2 separate regions of the Homo sapiens genome follow, and region 2 is linked to region 1. The links are contacts of gene promoters, found by promoter capture Hi-C in blood cells and fetal thymus (Javierre and others, 2016). All regions are on one chromosome and are shown on one strand. The core of a region is centred on a gene start or on the middle of the fragment in contact, and the rest is flanking DNA. Distances in the headings are between cores, read along the strand shown. Region 1 holds the start of POLB (DNA polymerase beta). Region 2 overlaps AP3M2 (adaptor related protein complex 3 subunit mu 2).

Region 1 (5,667 bases), core at 1,631-4,130:
CCTCCCTGCCTCAACTTCCCAAGTAGCTGGGATTACAGGCGCCCACCACCACGCCTGGCTAATTTTTGTATTTTTAGTAGAAATGGGGTTTCACCATGTTGGCCAGGCTGACCTTGAACTCCTGACCTCAGGTGATCCGCCTGCCTCAGCCTCCCAAAGTGCTGGAATTACAGGTGTGAGCCACTGCGCCCCGCCAGGAGCTTGGATTTTATCCTAAGTGCAGTGGGAGGGTGTATAAATAGGGACATATTTTGATACTACATCCTAAAAAGATCACCCTCTGTTTGGGGAATATTCTATAAGAGGACAAGAGCAGAAGCAGGAAGCCCACTGAGGAGGCTTTGGTAACAGTTCAGGAGGTCATGGGAGTTTGATCTAGGGCAGTGGCAGCTCGGGATGAGAGGTCATCCAGTTCAGCACATATTCCTGAGACAGAACAGACAAGGTCTGCTGGCAGACGGGATGTGGGGTGTGAAAAGAGCAATTAAAAATGACTCTTATGGGTTTGGCCTGATAGCAGGGTGGATTAAAATGCTATTAACTGAGATGGGGGAAAGTTAAGGAGAAGCTGGTGGGGCAAGAGTCAGGAGTTCTTTAGGACATTTTATCTTTGAGATGCCTATTATGGACTAGAGCTATCCAGTAGACAGCCTGATGTATGAGACTGGAACTCAAGGGAGAGGTCAAGACTTGAACTATGAGTTTAGGAGACTTTCAAGCTAGACATGCCATTTAAACAGGTAAAACTGGACAAGTTGGAAAAGCTGGTTAGAAGACTGAAGTGTGAAGCCATTTCCCATAAAGGCTGGAGAGTGGAGGAGGAGCTGGGAACCAGTGCTCAGGCGCACATGTGCGCACACACACACCCTGCTGAGGACTGGCCAGTGAGGAAAAAGGAAGCCCAGAGCATGTGGAATCTTAGAAGCCAATTGAAGCAAGTTATTTCAAGAAGAACTTTGTGAAGCAGATCAAATGTCGGTTGTTCTAAGACGATAAGGACAGATAATGGATTATTTTCCTTGGTTTCTCTGGCACTAATTTTAAAAATATAGTATTTGTAAAAATGGGCTAGGTGCAGTGGCTCACGCCTGTAATCTAGCACTTTAATAGGCCAAGGCGGGTGGATCACTTGAGGTCAGGGGTTTGAGACCAGCCTGGCCAACATGGTGAAACCCCATCTCTACTAAAAATACAAAAATTAGCTGGGCATGGTGGCAGGATCCTGTAATCCCAGCTACTCGGGAGGCTGAGGCAGGAGAATCACTTGAACCCGGGAGGCAGAGGTTGCAGTGAGCCGAGATCGTGCCATTGCACTCTGGCCTGCGGGACAAGAGTGAAACTCTGTCTCAAAACAAAAAAATTTGTAAAACTGATCCCACAATTCCCTACATTTGTAACTTTTAAAATTCAGAGGTAAATACATTTTTATTTAAGGAGGAATAATTCTTCAGAGCAAAATAATCTGAATATCACCTGGAATAGAGATTGGACAGAAAAAAGTGTGAACAGGGAAAACTAGGACAAGTCATATATGTAAATGAGAGTATAAAGAGTAAATGAGAGTGGTCACTGCTCACTGCAGCTTAACTAATCAGATAGTTAAGTTGCAGGCATAAAGTTTTTTTAACTTTTATTCCTCAAGTAATAAATTGAGGAAAATACAAATATGTACAAAATTTTTACAAAAGCTATCCATAAAAGGGCAAGTAGTAATATATAGAAAAGATCTACCAGATTAGTAACAAACTACCCCCATTAGGAAAATGGTAAATGATATGAATAGGAAATTCAAAAAAAGAAGAATTACAGATTTCCAATAAGCATAACTTAAGATATACACTGATATTGTAAGGAAACACAATCACCACAACCTTGCTAATCAAAGAAACTAATGATATTTATTGGAAAATAATGGGAATTTTTAATAGACTGGGTTAGAAGACTAGAAGTGTACGTCCCAAAATATTAATAGTTCAGCTGTAGGGTGAGATCACTGATTTTAATTTTCTCCTTTTATACATTTTTCCAGATTTCTCTACAGCAACTACGTATCATTTTGTAATAAATTTTAATTTTTCGATGCACAAAGCAATTGCCTGGAATTGCAGTTCGATATGAACCCAGGAGTTACGCTTGTAAAATAAACTATTGCTGATGTGACATTTCCATTTCTCAAGCAGACTGTAAATTTCTCAGATGTAGGTCATCATGTTATAATTAGGGTTCCATTGCTCATGATCTAGATGAAACACTTCTCCCTTTCTTGTGGTCTCTTCATTAATTTGGTCCCTACCGCAAAGGCAGGGGGATTAAAAATAAAATATCTTTTGACACTGGTTGGCAGGTGTACTAACACGTGTGCGGGAGGATTCCTGTTCTCGGCATGGTTCACGCCGGGCTCCGGCAGCGCCCTAGTACGTAAGGGGCTGCACTGGAGTGTGGACTGCCCGGTATCCTTAGAGAAAGTTTTGACAGTGTGACGCCAGTGTCGCCTCTAACCACGTACAAAACGCGCCATGCATTGGGTAGCTATTACAGTGCACATTTTTGTGCAGGAAGCTACCCCACCAGCGCAAGTATTTCAGAATCAAGATCGCACTCCCGTTTCCCCTTCTAGGGAAAGGATTCCAGATAAACACTGAGAAAACAGATTTAATATCTTAGGTCAAAACTCCAGGTCTTCCCATAGGAAGGCCCCTGGGCTGTCATTCTGAGGTGCCTATTTCCCCCGCGCCGTGTCCACGTCCACGAGTCCACGAACCCTCCGAGTTCTCTCTCCTCACCTGCCGAGGGCTCGCCCCTCTAGCCCCGCCCCGCCCCGCCCAGGACGCGTGACGTCACAACAAGCGCCGTGCGCCCCGCCCCCCATCGGGGGCAACCATTGTTCCGCCGGTCGCGCCGGAGCTGGGTTGCTCCTGCTCCCGTCTCCAAGTCCTGGTACCTCCTTCAAGCTGGGAGAGGGCTCTAGTCCCTGGTTCTGAACACTCTGGGGTTCTCGGGTGCAGGCCGCCATGAGCAAACGGAAGGCGCCGCAGGAGACTCTCAACGGGGGAATCACCGACATGCTCACAGGTTAGCACCGGGCCGGGCCCCGCTGGCTTTCTTCTTTCCTTCCAGCCTCTTCCCCTGCCTTCCTTCTCTCCCACACCGACAGTCCAGTGGGTAGGGTAGGTTCCTTGCAGCGGGTCGTCTTCCGTGGGGATCTCCCTCCGGCGCCCCTGGCTGGTTGTCAGTCCTGCCGGCTACACCTGGGCCATCGCTTGGGCTGCTTTTGGTCTGGCCCTTGGAGGAAACGGGTGGTCACTGTCTCTTAGAGGCTGCCATATCCCCTTCCAGAAAACAGTTCTCGTTTGTTTACTCGTGGTTCTTGTTCACCCGAGCCTTCTGTTGCCTTTCAGAACTCGCAAACTTTGAGAAGAACGTGAGCCAAGCTATCCACAAGTACAATGCTTACAGGTGGGACAGTGCAGCATTCTCGGGTAGCATACGTTCTGGGATACCCTGTTTAGTGTGGCAATTAACAGGACTGAGGGCCCAGTGGATATTTGGTCCATCTGCAAGAGCGGGAAAAAGCAAGAATCGAGGCTGGTACCTTACTATTTCTTGAAGAATGTGGGCAGTGCGTTATAGGATCAGTTCAGATAAGTTCCCAATTCTGATTGCAGATAGCTGTAGCCTGATACGTATTTTGTCATCATCAAACATGAATTACTAGAAATGCGGTGTAATTTTAACCGTAATGAAAGACAGCGGATGAAGTCCATACTGTGAAATATATGTGGTTCAAGGAATCACATTTTTTCTTTTGGTTGGTCTAAAGTTGATCCTGTGGGATCCTGATCCTGATCCTTGTTCCTTGTTCATGGGATCCTGTCCTTGTTCATCTCACCAGGGGCCTTATCCTATTCATTCTTTCCACATCCACCTGCTTCTACTCCTTAGCCTATATTTATTTATTTATTTATTTTTATTTGAGACGGGGTCTCGCTGTGGTATGATCATGGCTCATTGCAGCTTCAACCTTCCAGCCTCAAGTGATCTTCCCATCTCAGCCTCCTGAGTGGCTGGGACTACTACAGGCGCACGCCACCACACCCAGCTAATTTTTTTTTCTTTCTTTTTTTTTCTTTTTTTTTTTGTAGAGACCGGGTTTTGCTATGTTGCCCAGGCTGATCTCCAACTCCTAAACTCAAATGGTCCACACACCTTGGTCTCCCAGAGTGCTGGGATTCCAGGCATCAGCCTCGGTGTCAGCTCTCCTTAGCCTATAAATATGTGCAAGTCCCTCAGCTCTTAAAAGCAAAACCAAAACAATCTTAACTTCCCTCTAGCTAGCACCTTCCCTCTTTTCTCACTTTATGGTGAATCTTCTTGAAAAATCTTCATTCCTTGCCTGGACTTCTTAATACCTAATCATTTACTCAAGAAGTCCCAGTCCTTGCCTGGACCTACCAGTGCTCTGAAAATCCGCTCACCTACGTCTCATCTTATTGGACTCTCTGTGGCATTCACCCCTGGCTCATGCTGTGAATATCTCTTGACTTCTGTAATGGCACTCTTTCTGGTCTTTCATCTCTTCTTCTGTCTTACCTTTTAATGTTGGTATAGGTTGAGCATCCCTAATCTGAAAATTTGAAATGCTCTAAAATCTGGATGATTGCCGACATGATGACACAAGTGGAAAATTCCACATCCGATCTCATGTAGTAGGTGGCAGTCAAAATGGTCAAAACTTTGTTTCATGCACAAAATTATTAAAACGACTATATAAGATTACCTTCAGGGTATGTGCGTAAGGTGTGTGAGAAATATGACTGAATTTTGTATTTAGACTTGTATCTCCCATATCCCTAAGATATCTTATTATGTATACGCAAATATTCCAAACCCTGAAAAAAATTCAAAATCTGAAACAATGCTGGTCCCAGGCATTTCAGATAAGGGATAGTTAACCTGTGGTTCCGGGGAGTCTGCCTGCCCTTAGCCCTCTTTTCTTACTTCTGTAGTTTCCCTGGCAATCTTGCCATTCTTGACTTTGAAATGCCACTTATGTCAGTGACTCCAAATCTGTGTATCACTGGACTTTTTTCCACATTTTTAGCCCTATACTGTCTTTATCCCAAGTCAGCTCCCTTCTTCCATTCCCACTCCACACAGTTCAGAGCTGATTGTGCTCCCTCCTTTCCTTACTTCTGTGACTTCCTCTGTAAAGTAAAATAATTGTATTATCATCCATACATTTGATGATTCAAAATTACAGAGATATTCAACTTTGTATTCTATTTGGATCACAGCAGGTCTCAGAAAGGAGGTGTTTAGTTTGAAGAAGCTCATCGGGATAAGTGAGAGGGCCAGCAGTCTAGACAAATAAAATGTGCCAAAGCATTGAGACATGAAGGGTATAACGTTTTCTGGAAGTCAGATGTTCAGTTTGCTTAACGGGTATGGTATGAGTGGGAAATAAGTCTGGAAAAGCAGGTGATTCCCTACCACTCCTGCATGCTCCTCCCTACCCCAGTAGACATTTCTGTTGATTGTGGCCAAAGTATTCTTTTGAAAATAGTTATCTGATCTTGTCAGTCAAATAATTAAATAATATTTTCTCTTTACCTTGATAAAACCCAAATACATCATAGCATACAAAAGGCCTTTCATCTGATTCTTCTT
Region 2 (5,981 bases), core at 767-3,266, 180 kb before region 1:
ACAAGACAGGAAGTGAGAAGAGTTGTTTGATCTAGTTGAAACCATGGGGGAATTTGGGAAAGCAGAGTAAATTTGCTAATTTGGAAGTCTGAGACTTCAGAGCTTGTTATTCTTGAAGCAGTTGTTAAAAGTCAGTGGACATCCTGATTCTCAGGTCTCCGATGTGGATGTGCATCCTCTCCGGCAGCATGATTTTTCCAGGACCAGAATGTGACAGGAGCGGCCCCGCAATAGAATTGCAGGCTCACAGGCCGGCTGCAGCACTTGGCTGTATTGCGAGGCTCCTTTCCAGCTGCTTAGTTCACATGATGCCTGGTTTATAAAACCTAGTGAAGTGTTTTATTTTTTAAAAATAAATCACTTTTGGGAAGGAAATGTGTGACTTTTTCTTCTTTTAAATTATCATTCAAAATGAGAATTTTCCTCTTAAAGAGGAAATCTTTTTGTTTTAGGAATACATTCCTGACTCTTAGGTGACCCGGGTATTGGAATCTTGTGGATAATTGACGTTATCTAATGTAATTTAGACTCTAGTAGAGTCTGTTCAGTTTTGGATGTCAAAGAAATGGAAAGATGGTGAAACAACCTGGAAACCATACCTTATCATGAACAGCGGAAGTATCTTGAAAGTGTGGCCCTGAGAAGAAAAAAACTGAGGTGAAAACTCGTAGTTTTCAGATAATTGCAGGGCTGTTATGTACACTTGCTCTGCAAAACAGAGCTAGGAGGCAAATTTCAGTTTAGCAAAAGAAAGAACTTTGGAATGATCAGAGCCATTCATGAATAGAATGGACTTTCTCAAAAGGAGTAAATTTTCCTTCATTCTATGAGTTCAAGAGGGTTGCATGACCCTCTCAGAGGTCCTGGAAAAGACATACTGACATTGCTGGAAGGGAACATTGAATAGCCACAAACATTTCTTGCTAAATAATGATCACGCATTCCATTTTGTAGTGCTTTATAGTTTACAAAGTACATTCATGAGCGTTAGTGTTTAATTAGTCATGCCTAATTCTTACAGCCCTGTACCTCCAGTGGTGTTATCCTGATTATACCATTAAAGAATCAAGATCAAAATTAATTAACATGACTTAATCTACAAATGACAAAATTATAATCCAGGTCTTCTGGTTTGAAATCCAGTGCTTTCCCACAATGCAGATAATTTAGCACCTAACGTTAGCCTTTTAAATAAAAGGACAAAGAGTTCTTGGAATGCTAGCGTCTTAAAGATAGTCCAAAGGAATTTTCAGGTGTGCTAGCTTGTCCCCTTCATTTCATTTTTTTCCCCTCAACTCTTATTCACTGCATGAATGTTAAGAAATAGCACAGCAGTAGGGGTAAAGATTTTCATGTACTGTTCTTTGTTATATCAAGTATTATTTTGTATAATTCTTTCAAATTCTTGTTGATAAGCACATAATCAAGATTCAATTTTGTATTCTGTGTATTTTATCAAGTTGAGGAAATTAACCCAAAAGATTTAAGTTCCTCTTGTTTGTAGAAGAAGCTAGTAATGACAGTAGTACCATAAGCCAGTCTAGTGCTTTCTACCAAACAGACTGCCTAAGAGAACTATGGTTATGCTGCATTCCCTCGTTGTAGAAGAGTAGCCCAGAAACACATGGACAGGCCAGATCCTTATTCTCTGTAGGCACATTCTTTTATTTATTTATTTATTTTACAGTATCTGAGTGATCAATGTGTATATTCTGTCTCCATCAGGATTATTTTGGAGTCTGTTCAGAGCCAGTGATCAAAGACAATGTAGTTGTGGTTTATGAGGTATTGGAAGAGATGCTTGACAATGGTTTTCCATTGGCTACCGAGTCGAACATTCTTAAAGAACTCATAAAGCCTCCTACCATCCTTCGAACGGTTGTCAACACCATCACAGGTACGGCAGAGGGGGAAACTGATAGATAGTGGCCATCCTACAGCCTGAGTGGCTTAGTCGAGTGTCGCACATTGTTTTGAGTGTTTGTCTTTGGGGATCTCAGGTGTCCCAGTGCTTTAATTTTGCTCTTTGTAGTTGTTTTTTTTTTTTTTTTGAGACAGAGTCTCCCTCTGTCACCCAGGCTGGAGTGCAGTGGCGTGATCTTGGCTCACTGCAACCTCCGCCTCCTGGGTTGAAGTGATTCTCCTGCCTCAGCCTCCCGAGTAGCTGGGATTACAGGCATGCACCATCACACCCAGCTAATTTTTGTATTTTTAGTAGAGATGGTGTTTCACTATGTTGGCCAGGCTGGTCTTGAACTCCTGGCCTCAGGGGATCCACCTGCCTCGGCCTCCCAAAGTGCTGGGATTACAGGTGTGAGCCACCGCGCCTGGCCCCTCTTGTAGACTGAGTACAACCTGAAATAATATTTTTGCTTTGTGGAAAATACCCTGATTTTAATGACAAAATGAAGTGTTCTTTAAAAATATTTTTTTCTGATTACAGAAGAAACACATGATTATTGTAGAAACTTCAGAAATACAGAAAAGCACAAAGAATGCAAAAATTGCTTTTAATCCCACCACACTTTTAACATGTGATATTTTATGAACATTATCCCATGATGATGTCTTCTACATGGTTCTTTTTTTTTTTTTTGAGATGGCGTCTTGCTCTGTTGCCCAGGATGGAGTGCAGTGGTGCGATCTCAACTCACTGCAACCTCCGCCTCCCAGGCTCAAGCGATTCTCCTACCTCAGCCTCCCGAGTAGCTGGGATTACAGGCACACGCCACCATGCCCAGCTAATTTTTGTATTTTTTAGGAGAGATGGGGTTTCATCATGTTGACTATGCTGGTCTCTAATGCCTGACCTCAAGTGATCCACCCACCTTGGCCTCCCAAAGTTCTGGGATTACAGGTGGGAGCCACTATGCCTGGCCTTCATTTTTAATAATTTATAGTTTTCTTCCATGTGGAGTGGACCCAAAGTTACGTACTGAATCCCTATTTATGATGTTACTGATTTTTGTTCTTTTAAATAACAAGGATTACCATTCTTACACTTGAACCTTGGTGCACATCTGGGATGATTTCTTTAAAGTAGTAGAGGTAGCAATGCTGTGTCAAGGGGTGTATACATTTTAAGTACTGTAATGTGTTGCTCTCCAGAAAAGTTAGGCCAATTTATACTTTCAGTAACAATTTCAAAGCACTGTAGTGAACCCTGTTATTGTCATTAATAATTTTTTAGAAACATTGGCAATTTGATAGTTTATTGATATCTTGTATTTACAGTCATTTTTTGTTATTAAGGAGACTAAAATCTTTTCAAGTATTTATTGACTGTTTTTCCTCTATTGTGAATTACCTTTTCATGTCCTTTGTTCATTTTTTTGTTGTTGAAATGTATTTCTTTTTTCATGTGGATTTAAAATCTCTTTTATGGGAGATCTTTATGTCTTTTGATTACTGCATTACAGATATTTTCTTACAGTCTATCACTTGTGATTTAGCTTTGTTCTGGTGGTGTTTAGCCACATTTTAAATGTTTTGATTTAATCAAATTAATCATTCTTTTCATTAAGGTTTTACATTTTGGGTCTTGTTTAATGCATAAGCAAGCATTTTCATGGAATTTTATAAACTGATTGAAAAATACATTTTAAAAGTATAAATATTGCAAGAATAGCCAGGACAGTTTTGGAAAAGAATTACAAAGGGGTTGTTGGGAGGATTTGCCCTGTCAAATATCACGACACGTTAAGTTTGTATAGTACACAAGACAAATATTCATACAGTAGACATCCTACAAGACCCAAGAGAGTTTTGAAAATAATATTTTTAAAAAGAGGAAAGATAAAATGTGTCCTACCAGATATCAGATATATTACAGGTTTAACATCCCAAATCCAAAATCCAGAATGCTCTACAATCCAAAACTTTTTGGATACTGACATGACACTCAAAGGAAATGCTCATTGGAGGATTTCAGATTTTTGAATTTGGGATGCGCAACTGGTATAATCCAGATATTCCAAAATTTAAAAAAATACAAAATTTGAAACATTTCTGGTCCTGAACATTTCAGGTAAAGATTACTCAATCTGTATGAAGTTTGGGTAGTTTTTAAAATTTGGTATTTGTCTGTAACAGACAGATAGGTCATTGGGATAAAATAGTCCAGAAACAGACCCTTGCTTTTATAGGAATTTGGTGTAGATAGATGTGGTCATTTATCAAATCAGTGGACCAGGGGCTGGTTGTTAACTATATTGTATTAGGGCAGTCAGCTTCAATATGGAAAAAATTAAGTCCCTCCACTTCACACTATACACAAAATAAAGTCTAGCTAGGTTAAGGAGTTAAACACAGACTTTATAATTATTAGACAAAAACAGGAGAATGTCTTTTTGATCTCAGAGAAGGGAAGATCTTTTTTAAAAGTCTAGTTTGTGATTTTATTTTTGGATTTAATTATTTAATCCATTTGAAAATTATCTTGGTGTGCAATAATGTTTATTTCTTCAAGAGTTTTCCTAGCACCATTGTGTAATTTATCCTTTTCCCCTGTTTTAGAATGACATTTCTATCTTGTCCTGTCATTATGGATTCTTGGTCTGTTTTTAGGCTTTCCTGCCTTTTCCCTAGACTGCTTTGATTATTATATCTTGATGATACATTTTAATACATAGTTCCTCTTTTTAAGGAAACAAATTTGGTGGTTTCTTCAATATTCTGAGTTCATTTTAAGCCTTAAAAGCTTTGTTAGTGCCTGAATCATTTACGAATATTATGAAGTGAGTTAAGCCTGTATCTCACTTTAATCTAGAAAAGGGTATCTAAGAACCACTTTTGAAAAGTTGAAATGGGCCTGACATATTGGCTCATGCCTGTATCCAATACTTTAGGAGGCTGAGGCGGGAGGATCACTCATGCACAGGAGTTCGAAATCAGCCTGGGCAACTTGATGAAACCCTGTCTTTACAAAAAATACAAAAATTAGCCAAGCATGGTGGTGCATGCCTGTGGTCCCAGCTACTCTGAAGGCTAAGGTGGGAGGATCACTTGAGCCCAGGAGGTCGAGGCTGCAGTGAGTTATGATTGTGCCTGTGAATAGCCACTGAACTCCAGCATGGGCAACATAGGAAAACCCTATCTCTTAAAAAAATTTTTTAGGTGGGCATGGTGGCTCACATCTGTAATCCCAGCACTTTGGGAGGCCGAGTTGGGTGGATCATTAGGTCAGGAGTTCAAGACCAGCCTGGCCAACATAGTGAAACCCCGTCTCTACTAAAAATACAAAAATTAGCCGGATGTGGTGGCACGCGCCTGTAGTCCCAGCTACTCGGGAGGCTGAGGCAGGAGAATTGTTTGAACCCGGAAGGCAGAGGTTGCAGTAAGCCAAGACTGCACCACTGTACTCCAGCCTGGGCGATAGAGCGAGACTCTATCTAAAAAAAATTTTGTTTAAAGACAGAAAATAAAAGGATCCAGGTAATGGAAGAAGGAAATAGAATTTAAATTAATGTATTTTATTATGTCAGTATAAAACCTTTTAAATTAAAAAAAGTTTATGCCTGTAAAGGAAAAAACAAGTGAAGGAATTGATCTACAATTCTTAAAGACAGGGAGAGATCAACTTTGTGTTCTTTTCCTAAGTTTCAGTGTTGGAACTTGGGAATGAGACAGATCATATTGATATGTACATTTTAGTACCTACCATAAATGTACCTAAGAACCTATCTCAGGCTCAAATACTGTTTTTACCCATGAAATTTTTATATCAATATGTAGATTACGAACTCTACTGAAAGCCAATACATTATTTAAGCTGCATCTGAGATACTAAGTTCAGGTTACTTTCAAAACCAAAATATGATATCTGTTTCTCAGGTAACTTTTTCTTAAACCTTTATTCTGTTTGAAAAGGCAGACCAGATGGCAACAAGGGGTTTTAAAAATAGACTAGGTTACCCCATATAGAAGTTGGGAAAAACCTCATCTTCTGTTTGAAAAATTCTTCAATTGAGTGCATGAATAGT

What was found. The method cuts DNA at HindIII sites, captures the fragments that hold promoters and counts their contacts. A CHiCAGO score of 5 or more calls a contact.
Region 2: a contact is called between a fragment that was not itself captured here and the fragment with the promoter of POLB in region 1, in 16 of 17 cell types (endothelial precursors, M2 macrophages, M0 macrophages and 13 more). The highest score is 11.6, in endothelial precursors.

The regions. Positions count from the first base shown.
Region 1 is chr8:42,335,614-42,341,280 of GRCh38, forward strand. POLB (DNA polymerase beta) reads left to right here and starts at 2,881. Exons shown (of 14, transcript NM_002690.3): 1 at 2,881-3,072; 2 at 3,399-3,456. The coding sequence starts at 3,012. The HindIII fragment of the contact is 11,887 bases long and covers 1-5,667 here.
Region 2 is chr8:42,156,216-42,162,196 of GRCh38, forward strand. AP3M2 (adaptor related protein complex 3 subunit mu 2) reads left to right here. Exons shown (of 9, transcript NM_006803.4): 3 at 1,726-1,897. Among named protein-coding and RNA genes, the nearest start is that of AP3M2, 6.1 kb to the left of the region's middle. The HindIII fragment of the contact is 5,361 bases long and covers 1-4,697 here.